2 separate regions of the Homo sapiens genome follow, and region 2 is linked to region 1. Evidence: promoter capture Hi-C in 16 types of primary human blood cells and fetal thymus (Javierre and others, 2016). All regions are on one chromosome and are shown on one strand. Each heading gives the region's core, a stretch centred on a gene start or on the middle of the fragment in contact. The rest is flanking DNA. Distances are from core to core; before and after follow the strand shown.

What was found. Contacts are between HindIII fragments. The CHiCAGO score rates a contact against its expected background, and 5 or more counts as called.
Region 2: a fragment that was not itself captured here is called in contact with the fragment with the promoter of SLC13A5 in region 1 in 1 of 17 cell types (endothelial precursors); the score reaches 7.0 in endothelial precursors.

Annotation. Positions count from the first base shown.
Region 1 is chr17:6,711,656-6,714,836 of GRCh38, reverse strand. It overlaps SLC13A5 (solute carrier family 13 member 5), which reads left to right and starts at 1,468. Exons shown (of 12, transcript NM_177550.5): 1 at 1,468-1,605. The coding sequence starts at 1,504. The HindIII fragment of the contact is 6,998 bases long and covers 1-2,347 here.
Region 2 is chr17:6,890,770-6,893,950 of GRCh38, reverse strand. LOC124903908 (a long non-coding RNA gene) reads left to right here. Exons shown (of 2, transcript XR_007065597.1): 2 at 1-711. It also overlaps the pseudogene ALOX12P2. Among named protein-coding and RNA genes, the nearest start is that of TEKT1, 61 kb to the right of the region's middle. RefSeq lists an enhancer at 1-271. The HindIII fragment of the contact is 193 bases long and covers 1,507-1,699 here.

The sequences.
Region 1 (3,181 bases), core at 219-2,718:
CAATTATACACACATTGAAAAATCACATGGTACCCCGTAAATATAGACAATGATTTGTCAATTAAAAATGAAATAACACTTAAAAAATAAAAAAGTAAAAAGTAAAAATTACACCAATAAATATAAGAGGTACAAATTGTGCTAAGTGCCCTGGGGACACAGGAAAGGCGGGAAAACCCAGGGCTATATGCATGAGAGTTACAAAGGGAAAAGGACAGGAGGGAGGCAATTGCAGGAGGGGCTTGGGAGAATGCATGTCCTTGGGTGCAGGTCACAGGAAGGAACTCATGAGCTTGATTCAGGATGTGTTGAATTTTCGGGCCGAGACACGTCCAGTCTGCGGAAGGCTGGACATCTGGGACTCTGGCATCATGGCTGGGTTGAAGGCAGAGGATGGTAATCACTAAGGAGCCGGCTGTGGTTAGGCCACCAGCATGGATGAGACTCCCCAAAAGGAAGCTGCAGAATGAGAGGCAGGCAGAGGAGAGGAAAGAAGAAAATCACAGAGGTGGGGATGTCTTTGCATCCGTGTGTCTCCAGTGCCCAAAACAGGGCCTCGCGGAGAAGAGGTGCTCGGCACCTGTCTGTTGCCTGGCGGGCTGAATGAATACATGGGCGACTGTCTCAGTGTCGCCTTAGTTGTGTCCCTTCCTCTCTAGAGCTCCGTTTCCCTCTGACCTGGGTCGGGCGGGCAGCTGCGGCTGCTGAGGCTCGGTGGGGCCCCTCCAAGACGCGTGTCCGCATCTGCCCGCCGGGCGTCTGCGGGGTGCAGCGTCCACTGGAGCGCGACAGCCCCTGGGACAGAGGAGGACAGTGGCCTCGCTTCCCTGTGCGATCGCCCAGGAGCTCCGGGCCGGAGAGTGCGAGCGGGGAAAAGGGGTCCTGCACCTAGAGTGGGGCGGACGTGGCGAGGAAGCCAGGGGGGACCGGGAAGCGAGGCCCGCGGTGCGGAGGGCGCGGGGCGTGGGGGGACACCTCTCGGAGAGACACCGGAGGGGCGGAAGTAAGGAGATGGAAAGGAGAGGGAGATCGGGGAGATAGACCTGAGAGACCCAGAGGCCTGCAGAGAGTTTCATCCGGGACCCTTCAGAGCCCAGGAAAGAGCAGATGCGGACGCGGGAGGGCGCCTTACGCCAAAGCGGGCAGCACCAGTGACCAAAACACGCCCCGCTTGGCAGCCCCGGGACGCACCTCTGCCTCGGCAGCGCAGGAGAGGCTTGGACAGCGCGAGATGCTAGGGCCCAGGCTGCCCCTAGAGGGCTGGCCCGAAGCGTTGGAGTCCAAAGACGCCTCCCACCGCCGCCGGGTGGCAGAATTGGGGGCAGGCGCGTCCCACAGACCCCGAGGGGTGGCCCCGCCCCAGGGCCGCGGGGAGGCGCCCCCGTGCGGGGCGGAGTTGTCACCGCCCCCTCCCCAATCCCCGGGGACTGTGGCCCCTTCTTAAGCCCGCGGCGCCTCTAGCTGCCCCTCACTCGTCTCGCCCGCCAGTCTCCCTCCCGCGCGATGGCCTCGGCGCTGAGCTATGTCTCCAAGTTCAAGTCCTTCGTGATCTTGTTCGTCACCCCGCTCCTGCTGCTGCCACTCGTCATTCTGATGCCCGCCAAGGTCAGTTGCATCTCCAGGCAGCCCTTCGGACACCCGGCGTCCTGTGCCCACTAACGGGCACCGATCCCGGGAGCCCTGAGCTGGAGCGCACGGATTTCGCGGGGAGCACAGCTCTCCCGGGGCGCGCGCACTCAGGAGCTCCAGGTGCCGGATGGGAGGTGCCCTGTAAAGAATCTGAGGGGCATGGCGACCCCAGGGCGCACCACCCTTGGGGTTTACAGATCCCAGGGCGCAAGAGCCGTCCAGGCAAGCACGGAAACCTCGAAGTGAGCACAGATCTCAGCCACACAGATCCCAGCCTTAGGCTCAGCCCCTGGCTCCGAATCGAATCTCCCACAGTGCATAACCCTGTTTCCCCCCAAAATGCCACCTGCGCCAACAGGGAACCTGGGAGCTTGCCTTTCCCTCTCTCTCTCCTGTCTTTTCCCTTCGCCAAAGAAGACTTCAAGCTGTAGGTGGCTTCTGCCGTCAGGAGGGACCTACAGGAAAAAAATCATCACCCACGTGGATCCTGCGCTGTCTTTGCCACTCTCTGGCCCTTCCTTGGGCCTTAGTGTCTCTATCTATGATCCACATTCCTTCCAACCTGGAGAGCCACATCTGATTCATAATCCTGCTCCAGGCTGCAGGCAGGTTGGGGTTGGCCTGCTTTGCCTCCTGCCTGCTGGGGCTGTAGCAGGAGGCGGGACACATTCCCAGAGCTCGCGCCTTGGGTGGCAGGACCTGGAGTTGCAGGGAAGCTTCCTCCCAGGCCCTAGTCTCCTAATGCTTCTGTGAGGGAGAGAGAGAATGAATGGCCTTGGCCGCAGGGTGGGCGCAGGCTCCACTGGGCTGTGCACAGCCAGTTTGGCGGAGGCCCAAGCCCTTTGAAGCCTTTTGTGGCTGCTGGCTGCTCCTTCCTCGTTCCTTCTTTCAGCCCTTTCACTCTCAGCCCAGACAGGAAACCTCCAGCTCCCCACCTCCCCTCCCCAGGCAGGTTTGGGAAACAGAGGAGCTCTTCAGGGGATGCTCTGGGGGGGAGCTCTAGAGGAAGGGAGTGCACTGGGGTGTCAGGAAGCCAACCTGCAAGAGAACTGGACTTCCACCATTCTGTCATCTGTGTGACTTTAGCCAAGTGCCTGTGCTCTCTGGGCCTTGGTGTTCTCATCTGTACAATGGGGCTAGGTGGTTTGGTTCTGACACTTTAAGGCTTTGGGAATCAAAAGGGATTAACGTTAGTTCCTAGGATGGGGGAGGGGGAGACTGGGAGGAGCCCTTGGGTGGGCCTAGCACAGGCCCTGGATGGGTCAAGGACAGCAGATCCAACTGTGGAGGCTGTGCAGTTGCCACACCAACTGTGGGCAGCCACACTTCCTCTGTAGCAAGAAGTCTGGGGTTGTTATTGTCCAGGGGAAGTAGCCAGGCAGGAGAGCTGCGATTTCAGCTCTGCTGGTAGGGAGTGATGTTCCCTGGAATGATTATAGTAGCTTGGCTGACCTTCCTGCCACAGGAGACCCCACTCACACACACACACATACACACTCTCTCTCTCACACACACACACTCACAAACACACACAGACACACACACAAACACA
Region 2 (3,181 bases), core at 354-2,853, 180 kb before region 1:
CAGGGCCCCAGCTCTCACCGCAGTCCGCGCTCACCTTTCCCCACACCGGTGGCAGCTGCTTCCCTAGGTCTGCCTCCCCGTGCTCGCCCACCAGCCATAGCTGCACCAGGTTGGGAGAGCCCGCCAGGAGCAAATCCCCGGTGGCTACGCGGACCGTGTACTTGCCCATCTTGCCCGGAGATCCGGGGAGAAATCAGCTTTAAAAGGATCTGAGACCCAGCTCCCAGGGAACCACGCCCAGCCCAGAGTGGCTGTTGTATTTGGGTTTCAGGCTCCCCACCTCCCACCCACAGATTCCTCCCCGACTAGGAGGAACGCTGGGACTGGCGCCAGGCTAGGGTCTCTGTATCCAGAGTTTCTCCCGGCGGCTCTGGAAAGGGCAGCCTCACCCTTATTCACTTGGCAAACACTCCCTGATGCCAGTTTCACACCCTGCCATGAGCCAAACACAGCAGCCTACGGACGATGACAGCTAAACACTAGCTCCCACCCAATTTTGGTGAATACATAAATAAGATTGCCACGGAAGTGAAATGGCTTGATCATAGGGGTATTTTTCAATGGAAAGTTGACACTCCCCAGACACTCCTGCTCACCCACGGCTCGCCTCTCTCCTGGACCTCCTGGGCTATCGTGAACAGAAGGGCTTGAACAGCCCTTCCACCTCCTCATGTTGAAAGAGAAATAAAGGGCCATTGTGTTTTCATTGAATGGGGGTCCATAATAAGAGCTCTTCTAGGTCTTTCTTGCATAAGCTACATCCAGATGAGTTGACATTTATTTGAAATAAATGTCTAGAACCTAAAGGTTCTTGTGGGGAAAAAAACTAAATGCAGCCTCTATTTAGATCTTTACAGTTTTCTCAAAACCTTTTATAGTTGTATGGCTGACTCCTAGTCATCAAATTGACAGTGACTTTTAAAAGATTATTGTTTATGTAGTCATAAAATATTCAACTTATTTTTAAAAAATACTGGTATGTTTATACTCCTATTTCATTAGTTTGTCTATAAATTTCATCATTACAATAACAAATATAACTGATATAAACAGTTTTTTTTTCTTTTGAGACAGTCTTGCTCTGTTACCCAGGCTGGAGTGCAGTGGCATGATCTCGGCTCACTGCCACCTCCGCCTCCTGGGTTCAAGCGATTCTCATGCCTCAGCCTCCTGAGTAGCTGGGATTACAGGCGCCCGCTACCACGCCTGGCTAATTTCTTTTTTGTATTTTTAGTAGAGATGGGGTTTCACCACGTTGGCCAGGCTGGTCTCAAACTCCTGACCTCAAGTCATCTACCCACATCACCCTCCCAAAGTGCTGGGATTACAGGCGTGAGCCACTGTGCCTGCCATAAACAGTTTTGGAAGTTTACACAACTATTCTTGATAAACATAAAGCTCAACTGGTGGACATCAAAGTGCCGGGCAGGTCAGTTTTTTTTTTTGGAGGAGATGGACAGTGTCAGTCTCCTGATAAGTTGGTGATGGGTAGGTAATTTAAAAGCTTCTATTATAAAATCTAGTCTCTCTGACACTGCCCTGTCCACTGCAGTCACATCTCCCAATACTGAAGAATCCTGAGAATACGAGCGGTCATGACACTTACTCACGTCATTCACCAGTAAAACCCTCTATCCTTCCTCCTCAAAATCAGGAATGCTCTCCTATCCTCCCCATTGACCCCCACCCCTCACAAGCTTCACCTCCACTCTGTGCCCTACCATTATCCTCTAGAGCCTCAACTTCTCTTTGAAGAAGATCCTTCTAACATTTTGGCAACATATTCCCTCCACTTAACCTCTAATTCCCATTTTCAGTTTCAGTCACCGACCAGTGCAATAACAGCTTAGACTTCATTTGTCACTTAAAACTCACCTATAGTATATTACCCATTTTGTGGTTTATCCACTCAGCCCATGAGCCACTCTCCCCTTCCTGAAGGTTCTGACTGGAGAGAGAAGAAAGAGAGAGAACAATTGAGTTTCTGAGGGTTTTCCAGGTCCTGTGAAATCCAGCTCAATTCTCTTCCTTGGGTTCTGTGAGACACCCAAGCGGCTTTCCAATAAATCCCACTTTGTTGCTTAAGTTAGCTTGAAGTAGGCTTCTAGAACAATTAACTCTACCATATATAAGACAAAAAAAAATTCCTGTCAGAAGGGAATTGCAGTGAGTCTCAAGAGTTGAAGTATAAACATGAACTTGTGTTCCTTTTCTAATAACTCTTCCTTTCTCCTGAGTAGCGGTTTGCTTAACAGTTTCGTGGCCAACTCCACAATTTTCCAATCATTCTTGTTTAATAGTATACTCTTGTTTCAATATTCAAGATTGCTTCTTTTATAGCTTCCATATCAAAGTCCATTCTAGACTCATCTCCTTGCCTCCAGCCTCCTTTCCTAAACTATGTTCCTCTCCACCTGTCCTAACTCAAGCTAAACCTGTTTTTGAACCTAGAGGCTTACAGTAAAGGAGAGGGCTTATCTTTTTATCTTTTTTTTTAAAAATGAACTTTCCCTTTTTTCTCTCTCTTTGAGTCTCATATTCTCATACATCTCCTATGAAGGAAGCAAAGAGAGAATGAAGAAACCACTTAGTAAGTAGTCAAATGTATCTCTGCCATCTGCTACTGGCTACCTGTGTGAACATTATATGGTTCTTATAAGCAATGTTTGGTTTTCTTGGAGCAATGTTCAGCTTCATGCCTATCTTTGCTACCAAAAGAACTCCTTCTAGAATGAAATCCGTATTTCATCGGGACACTATCCCAACGTCATTTTCAGGTTGGATGTTCCATTGTTTAGCCTGGAGAAACTGCAGTCTGATGGTTTCTGCCCTTCTGCTAGTCTCCACGACCCTTCATATGGAGCCACAGGAATCCCTGACATGCTCTTGTTTACCCTTTAAGGGCTGCAGAGAAGTAAAATGAGTTGAAAATGGCCTGCATCTTCTTCTAAGGCACAATACATTATGATTATTTCAGGCTTGGCACTCTTGACCAGTGTCTCATTAAAAAATGCTCAGTGAAATTTCTTCATTCAAACAGTAGCAAACATGAGTTGCTATATTAAAATATGCTCCCAAATTCAGAAAATACATGCCAAATAGCCCCTTCTTCTCCATAATGGAGGAATAAGACTGTGCAATGCTCTATACTGCTAAGATCTCAGAACTCTTCCATAATAAC